2 separate regions of the Homo sapiens genome follow, and region 2 is linked to region 1. The links are contacts of gene promoters, found by promoter capture Hi-C in human tissues and cell types (Jung and others, 2019). All regions are on one chromosome and are shown on one strand. The core of a region is centred on a gene start or on the middle of the fragment in contact, and the rest is flanking DNA. Distances in the headings are between cores, read along the strand shown. Region 1 holds the start of ARMC3 (armadillo repeat containing 3). Region 2 overlaps MLLT10 (MLLT10 histone lysine methyltransferase DOT1L cofactor).

Region 1 (3,415 bases), core at 517-3,016:
TGAGGTGTCATTGAGTATTATATACAGCAGCAATGTCAAGCAAGATGAGGGCTAAGAAGCATCCAATGGATATGGATAGTTTTAGTGCTGGGATGAAAACAGGTCACTATAGTCTGAAGAGTGAATAGGAAGTTAAAAATATGTAAGTATCTAATGCTGGCTACTTTTTTTGAAAAGTCATGACCAAGAAGAGAAAGAAAACAATAGGATAATAGTTAGAAGGAACAACAACATCAAAGGGATTTTATTTGTTTTTGCTTTTTAGATGAGGCATGGGAGGGGCTTCAACATAATTATATACCAACAGGAAAAAACGTGGAAGACAGGGAGAGGCTGAAAATACAGGTGTATATTATTCAAGGTCCAATCATATAACACTTGATGACGCTTATATTCTTGAAACTCCCTCCTTAGTTTCCTTGATGCTACTTGGTCTTAATCCTTTTCCTACTTTCATGACCATTACTTAAGATCTTTTCTATACAGAAGTCACACCGGATATTTGACCATGGAAAACTGAATACAAATAATTGTTATAAAGCTGTTTATCAGGCAATTTAAATGGTGAGAAGAGAACATAAGATATATAAAAGTAGCAATTATAAGAAGCATCTATCATTCTTAGGACTGGGAGACCAACAGGGGCCGGTAGGAGACGGAATTTGCAAAGTCTAAGAGGAGAGGGAGAGACTTTTTGCTAAAGGCAATCAAAAAATATTTTATGAAGATGGCATTTGAGCTGGGCTTAATTAAGTGGAAATGAGAGAATATTTCAGGTATTGCACATGACCTGGGAAATAGAAGCTACTTTATAAATATTTGTTGAAAAATGAAGTGATGAACAGATAAGCAAGAAAATCTAGAGAAAAGTGTGGAAAATTTCGGGAACAGTAAGTTTGGCTGGAGCTTGGATGGTGGAGATCGGTTGAAAATGTGGTTGCACAGATGGAGTAGAGATGGAGCAGACGGTCTTAAATTCCAGGCCAATGTGTTGAAAATTTATCTTAGGAAGCCGCTGACATTTGAGTAGGGAAGTGACAAGACTGGAACGATGATTTCTGGATGGCCGATTTGCCTGTGATACGTAGAAAGAACTGTAAGCAGAGAGCAACTGAATTTCTCAGCCAGAAGGCCAAAAAATGACGAGCTGGATTGAAGTGACAATAAGGATATGAGAAAGGGAACAAGCAGGAAACAAAATGTAAGCCGCCAAGAAGTGGCTGAAGTGATGACTGTGGTTGGGGGGCATGGGAGGAAGAAGGGAAATTGAAGCTCCTTCTGAGTCTAGGCAATTGGAAGAATGGCAGGAAGAGGAAAGAAAGAGGAAGAGAACGGGGCTTTGAAGGGCCATGAGAAGTTCTGTGGAAACGGATTGGACATCCTAGTGCAAAGAGATGTGGCAGTGCAGGTCTGCAGCTTAACGGAGCCTGGGCAGGAGGTGGCTGATGTGGGTTTCATCTGCATAGAGATTCCGGCTGACGCCTCTATTTGGAAGAATGCAATAGTATTTGCGTATTTGAACCCACAGCCAGTCCTTGGGCCAGAAACTGAGGCTGAACTGCCTCTTGATTTACAGCTTCCACCCCCAGTTTCCATTCTCCCCTAAAGCACTGGATTCAGGTAATCGCGGACGCACTTGGCTCCTCCCGCACTGGCCGCTGCCCTCGGCGGGACAATGGGCGCCCTAGCAGCCCCGAGCGTTCCCAGGGCGCAGGCGCGGCGCGGCGTGGCGTCGCCTAGCAACGAGGCACAACAAGGGACTGGGGGTTCGTCTGCTGGGTTTGCGGAGCAGCTAGCTACTCGGCGGGATCTCCCGGCAGGTAAAGGTAACCCCGTGGGGTGGGGAGGCCCAAGGCAGAGGCCTGAGGAAAACCTGGGAAAGGAGAAGGTGCCACGTGGGCGCAGACTGCTTGGGTCAGTGAGGCAACACCTTGCTGGGCGTTGTTAGTTTCTGCCTCGCGCCCGCAGGGTTAGACGGGGCTTGGGGTGGGTTTCGTAAGCATCCCGCCACCTCCCATTCAACAGGTGACAAAACTGAGGCCCGAGAGGGGATCTGAGGTGAGATCAAGTCAGATTCCGTTACTTGACTGTGAGCAACTCAGAAGTGGCCTCGATTTCTTGAGCCCTCCTCCTCTTTAAATCTTCTCAAAGCAGAACTCATTAGAAAATATTTAAAATCATAGGCTGAACGTTCACGAAGAACAAATACAAAGGACCAATCAACTCGTGAAAAAAAAAATGGCTCCAGTAGTCAAGAAGATGCATTTTTAGAGCAGAGTTGTTTGCATATCCAATGCCCTGAAGTTTTCACCCAGTTAATTTACTGCTAGAGATTTATCCTAAAGAAATAGTTGGGGATAATGGATGAAAATTTTATGTCCAAGGACGTTCTTTCAGCCCTGTCCATATTTCCAGAAAATTAGAAACAAATTTCAACAATCAGAGACTGGCTAGATAGCTAAGGGATTTTAAAATATTTGTAATGGCATGTTATGCTAATCCACTGGAGATTATTAAAGCAATGAAGGGAAACTGAGACTTCATGAATTTATTTGTTAATATAAGAATTTAGTAGGAATATGAACCCAGGAAGGGAAGGTGAAAGTAGGGGATAGAAGTTGAGGCAGGATGTTAAAATCACTTTAGAAAAACACACAAAGCCAGGTACGGTGGCTCACGCCTACAACCCCAGCACTTTGGGAGGCTGAGGCGGGTGGATCGCCTGAAGTCAGGAGTTCGAGACCAACCTGGTCAATGTGGGGAAACCTGTCTCTACTGAAAATACAAAAATTAGCCGAGCGTGGTGGCGGGTACCTGTAATCCCAGCTACTCAGGAGGCTGAGGCAGGAGAATCTCTTAAACCTGGGAGGTGGAGGTTGCAATGAGCCAAGATCAGGCCACTCTCCAGCCTGGGCAACAGAGTGAGACTCTGTCTCAAAAAAGAAAAAGAAAAAGAAAAAAAGAGAAGAGAGAGAGAGAGGGAGAGAGAGAGAGAGAAAGAGAGAGAGAAAGAGAAAGAAAAAGAAAAAGAAAGGAAAGGAAAGGAAAGGAAAGGAAAAGAAAAGAAATAGTATTGATCTCTCTGAGCTTATCTTTGGGTGATTTTTATTTTATTCGTTGTGCCCTTGTTTTCCAAATTCTCCACAGTGAAATGTATTACCCTTGTAAGGATCATCTCCATAGCTCATTGCCACCGACCTATGTCAGCTGTTCAGTCTCTCCTCCATTAACTATCATACCCAATATGGTGATAAAACACATAGGCTTTTTTTGGGGGAGGAGACAGAGTCTCGCTCTGTCACCCAGGCTGGAGTGCAATGGGGTGATCTCAGCTTATTGCAACCTCCGCCTCCCGGCCTCAAGCAATTCTCCTGCCTCAGCCTCCCCAGTAGCTGGGAATGCAGGCACATGCCAC
Region 2 (3,415 bases), core at 625-3,124, 1.3 Mb before region 1:
GTTTCTTTTTTATTGTTGTTGCTGAGACATCCTGTTTTATTTATTATAGGTTTATCTTCAGTGGGCAGATTTAATTAGCATTTAGTGACATTTTTCCGTAAAACTTGACAATATAACGGAAATGGTATAATTTGGAATAGAGAAAAGAAATCACTCATAATCTTACCATCCTTATCACAGTCCTATTAATATATTTTGTGTATTTTTTTTTTTTTTTTCGAGATGGAGTCTTGCTCTGTCACCCAGGCTGGAGTGCAGTGGCATGATCTTGGCTCACTGCAACCTCTGTCTCCTGGATTCACGCCATTCTCCTGCCTCAGCTTCCTGAGTAGTGGGGACTACAGGCGCCCGCCACCACGCCTGGCTAACTTTTTTTGTATTTTTAGTAGAGACGGGGTTTCACTGTGTTAGCCAGGATGGTCTCGATCTCCTGACCTCGTGATCTGCCTGCCTCGGCCTCCCAAGGTGCTGGGATTACAGGCGTGAGCCTCCACACCCGTCCTATTTTGTGTATTTTCTTTTCTTTTTTTTTGAGACAGAGTCTTGCACTGTCGCCTGGGCTGGAATGCAATGGCGCGATCTTGACTCACTGAAACCTCTGCCTCCTGGGTTCATGGAATTCTCCTGCCCCAGCCTCCCGAGTAGTTGGGATTACAGGTGCACACCACCACGCCCAGCTCATTTTTTTTTTTTTTTTTTTTTTTTTAGTAGAGACGGAGTTTCACTATGTTGGCTAGGCTGGTCTCGAACTCCTGACCTCATGATCTGCCTGCATTGGCTTCCCAAAGTGTTAGAATTACAGGCGTGAGACACTGTGTCCAGCCTATTTTGTGTATTTTCTTTTAATGTTCAGTGAATTTTTTTTTTTTTTTTTTTGAGACGGAGTCTTGCTCTGTAGCCCAGGCTAGAGTGCAGTGGCACGATCTCGGCTCACTGCAAGCTCTGCTTCCCGGGTTCACACCATCCTCCTGCCTCAGCCTCCCTAGTAGCTGGGACTACAGGCGCCCACTATCACACCTGGCTTATTTTTTTTGTACTTTTAGTAGAGACGGGGTTTCACCGTGTTAGCCAGGATGGTCTCGATCTCCTGACCTCGTGATTGCCTGCCTCGGCCTCCCAAAGTGCTGAGATTACAGGCGTGAGCCACTGCGCCCAGCCATATTTGTGTTTTTAAACATAGAAAAGGTACAGCTAAAATAATGGTATGAAAGATTTTAAAAAATGCACTTGTATAGGGCTTTACCATGAATGAAGCTTACAGGACTAGAAGTTGCTCTGGGTGAGTCAGTGAGTAAGTGGTGAGTGAATGTGAAAGCCTGGGACATTTTTGTACACTACTGATAGGGTTTGGCTGTGTATCCCCACTGAAATCTCATCTCGAATTGTAATCCCTATGTGTTGAAGGAGGGAGGTGACTGGATAATGGGGGCAGTTTCCCCCATCCTGTTCTCATGATAGCGAGTGAATTCTCTTGCGGTCTGATGGTTTTGAAAGTGGCAGTTTTTTCCTATGTACACATTCTCTTTCTCTTGCTTGCTGCTATGTAAGATGTGCTTGCTTCCCCTCCTGTGATGATTGAAAGTTTCCTGAGGCCTCCTCAGCCATGTGGAACTGTGAGTCAATTAAGCCTCTTTTCTTTATAAATTGCCCAGTCTCAGGTAGTTCTTTATAGCAGTGAGAGAATGGACTGCTACAACTACTATAGACTTTATAAACATTGTACACTTAATGTACACTAAATTTATTTTAAAAATTGCTCTGTCATGTTACTATGGCTATTACATCATTACGTCACTAGGCAATAGGAATTTTTTAGTTCCATTTAATCTCATGGGACCACCACTGTATATGTGGTTGTTGTTATGCAGACTGCATTTTGAGAGAGACCACATTCATATAGCTTTTCTTATAGTACATTGTTATTTTTTTTTTTTAATTTTTAAAAATTTTTTGAGGTGGAGTCTCTTTCTCTGTTGCCCAGGCTGGAGTGCAGTGGAACGATCTTGGCTCACTGCAGTCTCCTAGGTTCAATCGATTTTTGTGCCTTAGCCTCCTGCTTAGCTGGGACTGCAGGCACGTGCCACCACATGCAGCTAATTTTTTTGTGTTTTTAGTAGAGATAGGGTTTCACCATGTTGGCCAGGCTGGTCTCGAACTCCTGACCTCAGGTGATCTGCCCGCCTCAGCCTCCCAAAATCCTGGGATTATAGGTGTGAGCCACTACACCCAGCCTGTTCTATTTTATTGTTGTTGTTAATCTGTTACTGTGCCTAATTTATAAATTAAACTTTTTATAGGTATGTATGTATAGCAAAAAACAGAATCAAGTGCTCAGTACCATTTGTTGTTTCAGACATCCACTGGGGTTCTTAGAATGTTTCTCCCATGGATAACTGGGGGACTACTGCATTTAGGAGGTGACTGAAGTGGTCCTGATGAAAGGTGATGCTTGCTTTAAGTAGGGTAATAGTGGAGATGGAGAGAGAGAGGCAGATCTCACCAGTATTTAGGAAGAGGAAGGGCACAATACAGTTATGGATTAAAAGTGAGATTAGGGAGTGAGGCATGAAGTGGTCAAAGATGACGTATACTAGGTGTCTTGCGTGAGCAATGTGTCATTGAAAATATCATTACCAGTATATGAAAAGAGCAGGAAGAGCAGATTTTGTCATAAATTGTGGAGCGTTTCAAGTGTCTATGTAGGCTGGGTGAGGTGGCTCACTGTAATCCTAGCACTTTAGGAGGCTGAGGTGAGTGGATCACTTGAGGCCAGGAGTTTGAGACCAACCTGGGCAACATGACGAAACCCTATTTCTACTAAAAATAGAAAAAGTTAGCTGGACGTGGTGGCACACACCTGTAATTGCAGCTCCTTGGGAGGCTGAGGCAGGAGAATTGCTTGAACTCTGGAGCTGGAGGTTGCAGTGAGCCGAGATTGAGCCACTGCACTCCAGCCTGGGCAACAGAGTGAGACTCCATCTCAAAATAAAATAAAATAAAGTGTTTATGTAGCATATAGAGTTTTATACCTGAACCTGAGGACAGATACAAATAGATAAAATTTGGGAGTCACTGTTACATTTTTATAATTTAGTTGGTAATGGAAATTTGGACAATGAGTAAGATTGCCTAGTGTTTCATGTGAAATAAGATGACATCTTAGGCCAGAGCCCTGAGGAATTTCACCATTTAAAGGTTTGATAGGGTGATCAGAAAGGTGCTGCCAAAGAGGTAATAGGAAAATCAGGAGAGTGAAATACTGAAAGGCAAGAAGTATAGTGGTATTAGCCTGTTTCAGGTTAAAGGAATACCTGAAACTGGGTAGATTATTAATATAAAGAAAAGAGGTTTATTTGGTTCACAGTTCTGTAGGCTGTACAAGTATACCACCAACATCTTTGGGCTGAGGAAACTT

The links. Contacts are between HindIII fragments. The study calls those that stand out against the background at their distance.
Region 2: a contact is called between a fragment that was not itself captured here and the fragment with the promoter of ARMC3 in region 1, in 1 of the 25 tissues and cell types used here (dorsolateral prefrontal cortex).

The regions. Positions count from the first base shown.
Region 1 is chr10:22,926,287-22,929,701 of GRCh38, forward strand. ARMC3 (armadillo repeat containing 3) reads left to right here and starts at 1,767. Exons shown (of 19, transcript NM_173081.5): 1 at 1,767-1,820. The HindIII fragment of the contact is 8,735 bases long and covers 1-3,415 here.
Region 2 is chr10:21,580,188-21,583,602 of GRCh38, forward strand. The region is part of intron 3 of MLLT10 (MLLT10 histone lysine methyltransferase DOT1L cofactor); the gene reads left to right. It also overlaps the pseudogene LOC100422524. Among named protein-coding and RNA genes, the nearest start is that of MLLT10, 48 kb to the left of the region's middle. The HindIII fragment of the contact is 5,411 bases long and covers 1-3,415 here.